4 separate regions of the Homo sapiens genome follow, and regions 2, 3 and 4 are each linked to region 1. The links are contacts of gene promoters, found by promoter capture Hi-C in blood cells and fetal thymus (Javierre and others, 2016). All regions are on one chromosome and are shown on one strand. Each heading gives the region's core, a stretch centred on a gene start or on the middle of the fragment in contact. The rest is flanking DNA. Distances are from core to core; before and after follow the strand shown.

Region 1 (3,317 bases), core at 227-2,726:
AAGAGCTGCGCTCACTGGTCCAGGACCTTGGCCTTCCTGTGTCTTCACTTTTTCATCTGCTGAACAGACTCCAAGGGCCCCAGTGGTGGGGATAAATAAATGCCTGATTACTCCATTTAGGGAAAGGTAGAAGAAAGGGTAGGATAGAGACCAGGATGCCAAAGGATCCCTCAGGCCTGGGAACCTGGAAAGACTTTTCCAGGACCTAAAAGAGAAGCGGCGGGGCACTGTGGCTCACGCCTGTAATCCCAGCACTTTGGGAGGCTGAGATAGGTGGATCACCTGAGGTCAGGAGTTCGAGGACAGCCTGGCCAACATGGTGAAACCCCATCTCTACTAAAAATACAAAAACTTTGCCAGGCATGGTGGCGCTCGCCTGTAGTCCCAGCTGCTCAGGAGGCTGAGGCAGGAGAATCACTTGAACCCGGGAGGTGGAGGTTGTCATGAGCTGAGATCACACCACTGCACTCTAGCCTGGGCGACAGAGTAAGACTGTCTCAAAAAATAAAATAAAATAAAAATTAAGTGAAAATTTAAAAAATAAAAAGGGACGCATGAAAGTGTAAAGTTCACAGGTGGGGAAATCAAAATGGCCAGCAAGTGTTGGGAGGCACCTTCATCTCTCAGTGCAGTGATTCGGGGAAAGGACCTGAATGTGGATGTCTCACCCCAGGCAAGCACTGCATCTCTGGACAACTTGCCTCACACTCAGCCTCAGTTTCCCCCTTATAGAATAGGAGTACAGGGTTGTGAGGATTTTGTGAGATGCTGCCTGTGAACACCATGGCAGGCCAGGCATACAGCAGGAGCTCGGCCAGTGTCTGCTGTTGGCGTTGTTTTTGTTGTTTTCATTCTCCAGTCAGTTGCATTCTAACTCTGCTGCATCCTCTCTGGGTCTTTCAGCACTTGTCCCCACTGGATCTCAGTTTCCTCCTCTATAAAAGAGGAGGAGTCACCTCTCCCTCTCAGGGTTCTTGTGAGGACAGAGAGCTCCTGACGTGCAATAGGGGCTCTGAAAACAGGAGACCCTTGCCCTGGAATGGAGACGCACCCCAGATGTAGGATGCAGTGTGACTCTTTTGACATTTTAGGAGAAAGAATCCTCCAACTGGAGCAAAAAAATTAGAGCAGGAGAGGAAAGGGGCCAAGAGATGAGACTGAGGTCCCTTCCTGGGCTCTGTCTGGCTGCTCCTTTCAATGCTCCAAGCTACCTTGGGAGCGTGGGTCCCCAACCTTGGCTCCGCTCAGGAAACCATAAAGTCTTGAGTAACATCCCATCTCAGGTTTTTCTCTGTTTATCTTGTTGACCAAATAGCTTAACTGTCTCACCTGCTAATGTGATTGGCAATTATTTACTTTGGAGAGCCCTGAAAGACACTGTCAGATTGCAGAATTCTCAATTATCTAGAAACCCATCACCCAACACATGCTTCCTCGTCCCCATACTATAAAAGAGGCTGACTCCTCGGCAGAAGTGAGTGGGGGAGAGAGAGGAGACCAGGACAGCTGCTGAGACCTCTAAGAAGTCCAGGTAAGAGCCATCCATTCTGTGGCCCCTCTGCTACCCTTAACGGCAGGGATCTCAGGCTCCTGCCCTGTGGGGCAGTGAGTGATCTTGATCACTCACTGGGGGCTGTGCAAGAGAAACAGACCTGGCCAATGTCAGGGATGTGGGGATGGCCATTTGCTCTGCTGTCCTAAGAGACCAGTAACATTGATATAGAAATGGGCACTATTAATGCCGTAAATGAAAGCCTCTAAGGCATAAGTTTTAGCTTGAGGTTACCAATGTGGATACAGATGATCCAAAAACCTCCTAAAATTCTTCACCCAATTTTATACATTTTGATGCATTTTTTCTGAGACTAGGATCTTTAGCTTCCATTGGATTCATAAAGGGTCTGTTGCCCAAAAGAGATTCAGAGGCTGTGGTCAAAGTTACCTCCCTAAGAAGGGCACAACTGGCTCTTTGGACCAAAGACCTTTCATTTCCAGCCTTCCACCACAAGGATGGAGCTTTAGCTGAGTCAGCCAATAGATGGAATTTTGCACAAAGTCACCAGTTGTCTCCAAATTGTAGGTACTAGTGCTGGCTCTGGACAACTCTGCTGGCTGCCAAATAGACCTGTGAGAGGTCTGCAAGCCAAACCTCAGGGGTTGACCGGAATTCCATCCAGGGCAGCTTGAAGGAGAAGAGAAAGGTGTCAAAATGATAGAATGCATGTTTGTGTGTTGGGTGAGGGGAGGGTTGGGAGACCTGCCTTCAACCACAGCTCTGCCATCAATTTATTGTATGACCTTGGGAAAGTCACTACCCCTCTTTGGTCTCCTGGTTCTTCTCATGCAATGAAGACTTTGATGGCCCCAGGAATTCCCCAACAAAGGTCTACATGAGATGGTGGCTGTGGCCATGCGACCCCTGTATTGTGTGACTTTCAAGGGCATCCACCAACCATCATGGCCTGAGCTCAGGCCAAAGGACTGAACAGGGATGATCTAAAACAGTTCAATTCTTCAGCACTTGCACGTTTAACCCTTCTCATTTGCTTTGTCTGAAGAGCAGCAATGATTCAAACCATTGAAGCAAGCCCGATTGGAGAATAAATCTGATGGTTACTTAATTTAACCGAGGGTTCACCTGGCTCTAGCTTCTAATCCTCTGTCCACCGTGTACTTGTGACCTTGGGGAAAGTTACCCACACTCGGTAGTACACAAGTGGGTTTCAAGAAGGGATGGGAGTATATTTGAAACTCCCAACTGCAAACTCACTTGACCTCTGTGAGCCTTGGTTTCTCCTACTGGAAAATCAGACAAGTGAACTGTGGGCAAGATGGAGTGAGGTGAGGCTGGGATTCTTGGCAAGAAGGAAAAAAACCCTCTTCTTTGGAATGTGGTGGAGTGGGGCTGTCTCCTTTTTAGGCCCCTGATCAGTGGTCCTCACCTGTGCAATGCAGGTAACAGGTGCCCATGTCTTAGGGTTGTGATGAAGATGAAATTGTGTAAAGTGGTCAGCCTGTTGCCTGGCAAAGAGAAATTGTTCAGCAGTATTAGCTATTACTAGTGACCCCCTGGTGTTCTGGGGAGCAAACAACCCCACCCCCCAGGTGTCAGGGCAGGTGGTGGATAAATTCCTCTCTGATACCCATGCCATGTTGGACTTGTCATTCTGGCCACAGATACTAAGAGCAAAGATGTTTCAAACTGGGGGCCTCATTGTCTTCTACGGGCTGTTAGCCCAGACCATGGCCCAGTTTGGAGGCCTGCCCGTGCCCCTGGACCAGACCCTGCCCTTGAATGTGAATCCAGCCCTGCCCTT
Region 2 (3,317 bases), core at 598-3,097, 340 kb before region 1:
CTATGCTGGCCAGGCTGGTCTTGAACTCCTGACCCCAGGTCATCTGCCCGTCTCGCCCTCCCAAAGTGCTGGGATTACAGGCGTGAGCCACCGTGCCTGGCCCAGGCTGGTCTCTTAACTCCTGGCCTCAAGTGACCTTCCCACCTGAGCCTCCTAAAGTGCTGGGATTACAGGTGTGAGCCACTGCGCCTGGCCCAGACATGCTTATTTTATGATGCATGCCTGGAACTTCTACTTTTTGGAACCTGTGCTTTCTGGACAAGGGGTGCATGTAGTTTGAGGCATGATGGCAAACTCCCAAGTGATTACTTTTCAGAACAAAAAGAGCCTAGAGTCTCAATTCCTTCTCCACTCCAGCAAAGATGGAGCTCCCTAATGAAGAATTAGCTTGTTTAGATTGCAGCACCTAGGAAGCGTGAGGTGCCCTGAAATCTGGTTCTAGTTCTGCCATGCACTGGCAGGGGCACTCTGGGAGGCAGCAGTGATCTGCCTGAGTCTTTTTCCTGGGGTGGGGGCACTCCGCTCAGCTCACCAGGACACAGTGAGGTGCCAGTGAGGGTTTGGGTGGAAAAGCCTTTTGAGAAGCACAGGAGTTGCAAGCCAACTCAAGACGTCTTCTGAGGCTTTGCTTGCCAAGCGAAGGGGGAAAGCTGCTGATGTGGACCTTGGTTTTTTCCCCTATCAGATCACTGGATCAAAGTTTCCTTGCAGAAACTCTTAAATGAGAAGTCTGCTTTGCATAGAAGCTACCGGCTGAAGGTGAGTTTTTTCTTTCCTTGGCCTGTTACAATGGTAATTATCTGTACACACACACCACTCAAAATAAATGCAAAAAGTGGATTTACTCCCTGGGTTCAGTCTTAGCCCTTGGGGTTTGGTCTCTGGAAACAGGTTGCGGCAGCTGTTGGATCCCGTCAGCTCTATCTGCAGACCACATCTCTGTGGCCATGCCCCTCTCACTACCGCCATTGCTAAGCCCTGGTCCTGGCCGACACCGCCTCGCTCCTGGATGGCTGCAGTGGCCTCTAGCTGGGTTCCCCACTTCCTTTCTTCATGCAGCACTGTCTCCATTCAGGGCCAGAGGAATGATGAGTTAGAAATACAGTTGAGTCACCCCGGTAGCTTCTCATCACATTTGGAACAAAATCTCAAGTCCTTACCATGGCCGTCAGGACGTGAGGTGATCTGGCTCCTGCTTGCAAGCTCTGGGCTTGTTTTCAACCTTCCTTCTCCCCATCTGCTCTCCTGCAGAGACGCAGGCTCCTCTGCTGTTCCCTGAATGGGCTCAGCCCCTTCCCGCCTCTGTGCCTCGGCATGTGCTGCGCCTTCAGGCCGCGGGGCTCTCCCCTAAGGTACCTGTATTCCCCCTATCTACTTCCTGTGGTCCCAAGCAGCCCTCCTAGGACAACCCTGTGCCCACCTCTGCTTTCATCCCTTCACCCGCAGTGTTTACCAGCTCCCAGCTTTGTGTGGTCCGACCATTGATTCCTCATGCTGTCACCTTCACGAGATCGACAGCTCCTCAACGGCAGCGGCTTCGTGCTCTCGGTTGTCTCCAGTGCCTAAAATAGTACCCTGCGCTTGGTGGGCTCCCAATACATTTGCTGCACAAATGAATGAATGAATGACGCACTCAGGGCGGTCTGGGTGATCCAACAGGCCTGCACTGACTTTTTTTTTTTTTTTTTGGTTGAGTCAGGGCCTTACTCTGCTGCCCTGGCTGGCATGCAGTGGTGCGATCATGGCTCACTGCAGCCTTGACCTCCCGGGCTTAGGTGATCCTCCCACCTCAGGCCCCCGAGTAGCTGGGAATACAAGCACCACACCCAGCTAATTTTTTAATTCTTTTTTTGAGACGGGGCCTCACTATGTTGCCCAGGCTGGTCTACCTACCTTGGCCTCCCAAAGTGCTGGGTTTACAGGTGTGAGCCACTGCACCCGCTCTTCTGTCTTCTGTGGGAAGCTCATCTTGGGCTTGGTTTTCCCTCCAGGTCTCACTCAGTGTCTTGGATTCGGTGCCTTCATTGCGACAGATGCTTGGTGACAGTGTGTGTAAAACCCAGCTCAGGGTCTTGCATGTAGAAAGCACCAAAGAAATATTTGATGAGCCAATCTCTCCAACCCGCCTTTTCCATTCTCGTCACAGAGAGGAAAATCTCTAGATTGGGAGGCCAAGCACTGGTCCAGGTCACAGAGTTGGCGCCGGAGAATTCAGAGCCCAGCCAGCCCCTTCGACTGCGCGTCATCTTTTGTGGTTCAAGTTGCCGTGAAATGCACATTCTCATGCCCTCCGCGCTTCCTTGAGCACTCCACGCTATGACAAACATGGAGGGTGGCAGTGGGCTGGGAGCACAGCCCATCTGTAGAGGGGGCTCCCTGTGGATAACTAGATTGTGGCCTGGACAGACTTGAATTCATCCTTTCTCTCCTCGTGGGAGATGATTAGTATGGGCCTGACCTTCCCCATCCTCTAACTCACAAGATTTCAAATGAAAGTAGGCTTGTGTGCTTTTAAAAATTTTCAGTGACGAGAGATGGCCAGTGCTGGTCATAGGACCTGGGCTAGGATTGCGGGGCCACATCACTTTGTGATCACTAGGAGAAGGGCATTAGACTCCGTGATCTCTGGGCACCTCCAGTCCCAGCACCTGGTCATGTTCTGGGGGCTGGGCCTAGAAAGTTGTCCTTGGGTGGAGTCTCCCACCATTGCTACTGTCTTCCCAGGCTCTCCATCCCAACTGGTGTGAGCAGGTCAAGTTCATCCCCCAGATGAATGTGGTAGTCTCCTGTTCAGCCATCGAGAAGTCCTCTCTGGTGCTGACAATATTGCCAGCCAAAGCCTCTAAGAAACCCAGGTAAGAAGTGCTTCTCTCCTGGCTAAGGCGGTGGGGCTGGAAGGGAGGGGGGTGGTGAGTGGACCATGGGGGCTGACAGTGGCAGATGGTGGTTGGTGTATGGACTCTGGGGTTTAGTTTTTCCAGCATTGCCAGCAGCAGCACGGTGAGAACACAGCAGCCTCTTTTATCTCCCAATCTATATGCAAAACTCAGCATAGAAGCCAGCACAGAGTGATTGGCAGTCAGTGAAATGTTTTCTGAATGAAGGGATGACTGTGAGTTACTTTCTCCTCTGTGACCCTCAGTTCCCTCATCTGTGAAAGGGTGTGAAAGCACGTACCTCACTTCCTGAAGGGTTGCATGAGGGAATCCTCTGTGGTATGTGTTCAGTAACTGGCAGCATTGGTTCTTTGCAGATGGTTCCAATCTGTTTCCTTCAGTCTAGATTCCTCTACCCTAGAGTGAAGTTTTTTCTTTTCT
Region 3 (3,317 bases), core at 396-2,895, 310 kb before region 1:
CTTTAAAAAAATACCTTAGATAACTTTTAAAAGTAATAATACTAGTTTATAATAAAAAAGGAAGTGTATGTAAATGAAAAAATAAAAATAAAAGTCCCCTATATCTCACTCACCCTATCCCATCCCACTCTCAACAGCAGCATTCGCTGCTAACAGGTTGGTTTTAGCCTTGTACTTTTTTTTTTTTGACTAGTAATATAAAATGATAGCTATGTCCTGCCATATGCTTTTTTCTGTAAGTCTATAGCATGGATATACTTTCATGAGAGGGATTTAGATTCATCTTATTCTTTTGTTACCTTATTCTTTTTTTTTTTTTTTTTGAGACGGAGTCTTGCTCTGTCACCCAGGCTGGCGTGCAGTGTTGCGATATCAGCTCACTGCACCTCTGCGTCCTGAGTTCAAGTGATTCTCCTGCCTCAGCCTCCAGAGTAGCTGGGACCATAAGCATGTGCCACCATGCCCAGCTGCTTTTTTATTTCTAGTAGAGTCGGGGTTTCACCATGTTGGCCAGGCTGGTCTTGAACTCCTGACCTCAGGTGATCCACTGGCCTCGGCTTCCCAAAGTGCTGGGATTACAGGCATTAGCCACCACACCTGGCCATCTTATTCTTTTTAACAACTGCCCACTGCTGCATAACTTGGATGCATCAGGAACTGTGAAGCTGGTCCTCTATGAATAGGTCTGTGGGTTAGTTCCAGTTTTTAGCTTTTAGGAGCAGCACTGCATTGAACATTCTTGCACGTACATTTCTGGGCACTAGTGTGAGTATATTGAGAGGACGGATTCTTGGAAACAGAATTGCCAACAGATCCCATCTCTTTAAATCTGTGAAGTCAAGGTAGATGGCTCAAAGCTTGATCTTTTGGGCTAGTGACCTAGTGCTGTCAGGACACAGGCATTCGCTACATGCCAGCCGCTGGGGAAGGAGCAGTGAATGAAAGATATCAAGCCCCTGACCTCTGGAGCTGTCATTCTAGTTGGGGCAAGATAGACAATTAACCAGCAAATAAAATAAAGGGCATGTCACAGAGTGAGTGAGGACAATGGAGGACAAGAAAGCCGGGAAGATGGCAGGGAGAACAGACATGGGAGGAGATGGCATTGCTGTTTTATGAATAGGCTGGTCAGGGAGGGCTTCACAGAGGAGGTGGCATCTGCATAGAGCCTGAAGGAAGCGAGGAAACATGGCCTGCAGTTATTTGGAAGGAGGGTGATGCAGGCAGAGAAGGTAGGTGCAAGGGCCCACATGGGAGAGCTGGCATGGAATGTTCGAGAATGAGTACTTCTCTCTCTCTCTCTGTATCTCTCTCTGATACTTTCTTCCTCTAATTAGAAAGTGATACATGTCCTTAATTAAAACTAAAAAAATTCAGGCCAAGAGCAGTGGCTCACATCTGTAATCCCAGTCCTTTAGGAGGCCAAAGTGGGAGGACTGCTTGAGCCCAGGAGTTCTAGACCAGCTTGGGCAACATGATGAGACCTCATCTCTACAAAAAATTAAAAAAATTAGCCAGGTTTGATAGTGTGCACGGTGCACCCAGCTCCTTGGGAGGCTGAGTTGGGAGAATCACTTGAGTCTGGGAGGTCAAGGATGCAGTGAGCTGTGATTGTGCCACTGCACTCCAGCCTGGGCAACACAGCTAGACCTTGTCTCTTAAACAAACAAACAAACCTGGCCCAGTGCGATGGCTCACACCTGTAATCCTAGCACTTTGGGAGGCTGAGGTGGGCAGATTGCCTGAGCTCAGGAGTTCGAAACCAGCCTGGGCAACACGGTGAAACCCCGTCTCTACTAAAATACAAAAAATTAGCCAGGGGTGGCAGCATACTCCTGTAGTCCCAGCTAGTCGGGAGGCAGAGGCAGGAGAATTGATTGAACCCGGGAGGCGGAGGTTGCAGTGAGCTGAGATCGTGCCACTGCACTCCAGCCTGGGTGACACAGTGAGATTCGCCTCCAAAACAACACCACCACCACCACCTATGAAAAAAAATGAAACTTTATACGAGTGTATAAAGTAAAAGAATGGCTGTCTCCCTCCTCAGCCTCCAGAGGTAATTACGTTAAGACATGTGTTGTAGCCTTCTAGAATTTTTTTGTGCATATACAAGTACATACATGTATGAATGTATATATATAAATCTAGATATTTTTCACTGGATAATATCATATTGCATGTATTATTCCGGGACTTGCTGTTTTTCACTTGACTCCTCACGGGCATCTCTTCATGACGGTGTTTACGGAGCCATGGCATTCCTTTTACTAGTCACATCATGTCCTGGGTACACTGCACAGAGTCTGTATAGCTATCTGCTGCCGCTGGGTTTTGCCTCTATAGAAAGCATTGCAATGAATACCCTTGTACATAAATTTTGGATCTCTTGTCTATTTCCAGATATAAAACTCTAGGATTAGAAACATACTCCTGGAAAGCTTTTGCTATCTTGCATTATGTTTCAGTGGTAGCTAGTAATTATTGAGCTCTCAATATCTGCCAGACAATGAACTTAATGGTTTACATGTGTTATTTTTTGTTTTTTGAGACAGAATCTCAGCTCTCTTGTCCAGGCTGGAGTGCAGTGGCACAATCACAGCTCATTGTAGCCTCCACTTCCCAGGCTCAAGCGATTCTCCCACCTCAGCCTTCTGAGTATTAATAGCTGGGACCACAGGTGTGTGCTACTGTGCCTGGCTCATTAAAAAAATATATATTTATAGAGATGGAGTCTCCTTATGTTGCCCAGGCTAGTCTTGACCTTCTGGGCTCAAGCGATCCTCCTGCCTTGGCCTCCCAAAGTGCTGGGATTACAGGCATAAGCCACCATGCCCAGCTACATGTGTTGTTTTTATTTTGTCCATCAAACAGCCCTGGGAAGTATGTACTATTATTATTTATTTATGAGGGATTTTTATTTATTTAATACATCTGAAAAGAATGTATGTGAAAAGAATGTTTAATACATCTGAAAAGAATGTACTATTATTATTATTCCCATTTTATGGCTGAAGAAACAGGCCCAATGAGGTGAAGTGACTTGCCCAAGATTCTTATGGCCAGAAAATGGCAGAGCCAGGGCCTGATTCTAGGTCTATTTGTTTTCAAAGTTCAAGTTCTTTTAAGTTTTTGTGCTGCCACTGTTGGGAATTCCTTGGGCTTTTTACGTGGCCTGGTGATCTGTGTGTAATAAGGATTTGTATCATGAATCTTGATTGAATTTTTGGCCACAGAATTGCATGCAAAAGATTGAATGTCTATTGGTGAGATTTGAGGCACTGTGGCTGGCAGGGCTGTGTGTGTGTGTGTGTCCCCTC
Region 4 (3,317 bases), core at 605-3,104, 290 kb before region 1:
ATTGAGTCATGTTTTCTGTTACCACTCTTACTATATACCAGTTTTACATACATTTGGGTTGGTTTCTGAGCTTTCTATTGTCTTCCATTGCTTTGTTTAAAATTTAAAGTTTATTATTCTGACTTTCCATACTTGAATATGGTCGAATAAGTCCTCCTTTATTAATCTTGTTTTATTTAAAAATGGTCATTTTCACTCATTTTCCAGTTCAGTAGTTTTATTCTCTCAGTGTAATGTGATTTATCACCCCATTGCTCACCCTATTCATCTCCCAATACCCAGCTGAAAAACTTTAGAAGACTGAGGCTCTTGCCCTGGCCCCATCACTTTCTAGCTATGTGGGCTTAGGCTAGTTATTGAACATGTCTGACTCTCACTTTTCTCCTCTGTAAGTCAGTGAGAATTATATACTTCTTATAAGGTTGTGAGGTTCAAATGGAATAATGTGTACAGAGGCACTTGGTAAACAATGTAGTCATATGCAAGTCATATGCAAGTCATATGTAGTCAGCTTGGTGAATTTTGAGAAAGTAAATGCAAGTTCTTTTTATGGTTTTACCTAAGGGGCCAGTGAGGGCCAGAGAAGTGCCGGGACCTATGTAAGGTCGCAAGCAAGTTCATGTGGAATGCATCTAGAACTAGAACGCTAGCCTGTGTCCCAGGGCCCTTCCAACTGGGCTCTGCTGCCTGCAGTCCTGGGTGCCTTCTAATTAGCCTGTGTAGTGGTCTTGGTAAAAGTGTTTCTCCTGTACTGTCCCCTATAGGTTGTGGCTGGCCATACCATTTCCCTGGTTCCCCCCACGCTCCTGATGACCTGGAAAGGCCATTTGAATAGTGTGGCAGACATCCTGTATGTGGACAACTTCCAGCTGGTTATCAGCGCTGGCCAGGACCGGGACGTCAAGGCTTGGAAACTCTCCGGTGATGCCATTGGTATGGGTCCTGCTGAAGCTCAGCCATGCCCATGGCCCTTCTTGTCTCTGTCCCTGTCTGAACATAAGCTGGTATGAACTTTGTACTCTGTGGGGAGGGACTCTCAGGCCACAGCAACTGCCTTCACTTAAATAATATTACAGTCTGTCCAATTATCCATTCAGCAAACGGTCCATCCATTCACCCATCCACCCAATATTATTCACCTATGTATATTTTTGCAAATCATATATCTGATAAAGCATATTCCTTTCTCTTTTAAAAAATAAACTTAATTGTTGCATTGTATATAAAGAAAAACATACAAACCAGAAGGGTTCAGCTTGGTGAATTTTGAGAAAGTAAATACATACCCATATAGCCACCGTTCATGTCAAGAAATAATTAGGGCCAGGCGCGGTGGCTCACTACTGTAATCCCAACACTTTTTTGTCCCCTTTTCCTCCTGTGCTGTCTTCCTATGTGTTTGTTTGTTTGTTTTAGTGACCTGTCTCTACTAAAAATACAAAAATTAGCCAGGCATGGTGGTGCATGCCTGTAATCCCAGCTACTTGAGAGGCTGAGGCAGGAGAATCGTTTGAACCTGGGAGGCAGAGGTTGCAGTGAGCTGAGATCATGTCACTGCACTCCAGCCTGGGCAACAGAGTGAGACTCTGTCTAAAAAAAAAATAATAATAAAAATAAAGTGACTTATGTGCCACTATTACAGTATTACAGCATTCTGTATTTTTCTATGTGTTTACATTTATCAGAAAGCTTTGTATTTTCATATGCTTTCATGTTCCTGCCTAGCATCCTTTTGTTTCAACTTGAAGGGGTCCCTTTAGCATTTCTTTAAAGGCAGGTCTAATGGTGATGAACTCCTCTTGTTTTTATTTATCTGGGAAAATTTTTATTTTTCCTTCATTTTTAAAGGACAGCTTTCCTGGATATAGTATTTTTGGATGAGAGTTTTTGTTCTTTTTATAATGTGTCTCCTTGTGGATTTCTTTGACTTTATCCTAGTTGGAATCCCTTGAGCTTCTTGAATATAGGTTTCTTTTCCTTTTTAAGATTTGAAACATTTTCAGCCATTATTTATTCAGATAAGCTTTTTGTCCCTTTCTCTCTCTCTGTCTCTCTCTCCTCCTTCTAGTACTACCATAATGCATATATTGTCCATTTGACGATGTCTCATAAATCCCTTAAGTTTTCTTTACTCTTTAAAATTCTTTTTTCTTTTTTGCTTCTCTGACTGGATATCTTCAAGTCTGCTGATTTTTCCTTCTGCTTGATCAAGCCTGCTGTAGATGACTTTTGAATTCAATTATTTTACTCTTCATCTTCAGCTCTAGAATTTCTGTTATTTTTATTATTATTATTATTATTTTTTGAGACAGGGTCTTGCTCTGCCACCCAGGGTTGAGTGCAGTGGCACGAATTCAGCTCACTGAAGCCTTGACCTCCCAGCCTCAAGTGATCTTCCCACAGCCTCCTGAGTAGCTGGGACTACAGGTGCATGCCATCATGCCTGGCTAATTTTTTGTATTTTTTGTAGAGACAGAGTTTCACCATGTTGCCCAGGCTGGCCTTGAATTCTTGAGCTCAAGTGATCGCCCACCTAAGCTTCCCAAAGTGTTGGGATTATAGGTGTGGGCCACCATGGCTGGCCTCTGTTTGGTTCTTTTCTATATTTTCTGTGTCTTCACTAATATTCTCAGTTTGTTCATGTATTGTTTCCCTGAGCTTGTTGAGCATTTTTATTACGGTTACTTAGAATTCTTTGTCAAATAATTAATATACCTCAATTTCTTTAGCGGCAGTTTCTGGAGATTTATTTTGTTCCTTTGGGCCATGCTTTCCTATTTTTTTTGTGTGCCTTATAACTTTATATTGGGATCCATGCATTTGTAAAATCAGCCACCTCTCCCAGTCTTTATATACTGGCTTCATTCAGGGAAAATTCTGCACCAATCAGCTTGGCTAAAGATTCTGGGTGCCTCCCCAATCTTTTTTGTGGATACTTTCACCAGACTTACGCATGTAAATTCGCAATTACAGGAATCTACAGGTTTATTTTTTTCAGGAGTCCATTATCTCTTGCTCTCTCTGGTGTCTATTTGCAGTACTGCAAGTTCTCTAGAGCGGCTACAAGCTTCCCCCAGGCCTCTAGAATATGCTGGGTCCTTCAATAGTCTGAGAGAGGCAAGACAGAAACCAGTTTCTTGGGTACCCCTCAAAGGCTAACATTGGATATGTATGCTCCAAATCTGCCTCCTCAAGGAGAAGCTGGAAGTTGGGTTGTTTTCTCTACTCATTCCACAGAGCGGCAGGAGGGACTCTGATAGTGTGTGCTAGTCTAAATTGTCACCTTTGTTCTTAGTAGCCCAGTCTGGTGCCTCTTC

What was found. Contacts are between HindIII fragments. The CHiCAGO score rates a contact against its expected background, and 5 or more counts as called.
Region 2: a fragment that was not itself captured here is called in contact with the fragment with the promoter of BPIFA1 in region 1 in 2 of 17 cell types (M1 macrophages and naive B cells); the score reaches 5.7 in M1 macrophages.
Region 3: a fragment that was not itself captured here is called in contact with the fragment with the promoter of BPIFA1 in region 1 in 6 of 17 cell types (M1 macrophages, M0 macrophages, endothelial precursors and 3 more); the score reaches 6.8 in M1 macrophages.
Region 4: a contact is called between a fragment that was not itself captured here and the fragment with the promoter of BPIFA1 in region 1, in 1 of 17 cell types (endothelial precursors). The highest score is 5.5, in endothelial precursors.

What each region holds. Positions count from the first base shown.
Region 1 is chr20:33,234,520-33,237,836 of GRCh38, forward strand. BPIFA1 (BPI fold containing family A member 1) reads left to right here and starts at 1,477. Exons shown (of 9, transcript NM_130852.3): 1 at 1,477-1,531; 2 at 3,178-3,317. The coding sequence starts at 3,193. The HindIII fragment of the contact is 3,888 bases long and covers 1-3,317 here.
Region 2 is chr20:32,895,769-32,899,085 of GRCh38, forward strand. EFCAB8 (EF-hand calcium binding domain 8) reads left to right here. Exons shown (of 27, transcript NM_001143967.2): 10 at 686-759; 11 at 2,725-2,855. Among named protein-coding and RNA genes, the nearest start is that of EFCAB8, 39 kb to the left of the region's middle. The HindIII fragment of the contact is 5,318 bases long and covers 1-3,317 here.
Region 3 is chr20:32,921,526-32,924,842 of GRCh38, forward strand. All of the region lies in intron 20 of EFCAB8 (EF-hand calcium binding domain 8), which reads left to right. Among named protein-coding and RNA genes, the nearest start is that of EFCAB8, 64 kb to the left of the region's middle. The HindIII fragment of the contact is 1,581 bases long and covers 856-2,436 here.
Region 4 is chr20:32,942,872-32,946,188 of GRCh38, forward strand. It overlaps EFCAB8 (EF-hand calcium binding domain 8), which reads left to right. Exons shown (of 27, transcript NM_001143967.2): 23 at 765-933. Among named protein-coding and RNA genes, the nearest start is that of SUN5, 60 kb to the right of the region's middle. The HindIII fragment of the contact is 334 bases long and covers 1,688-2,021 here.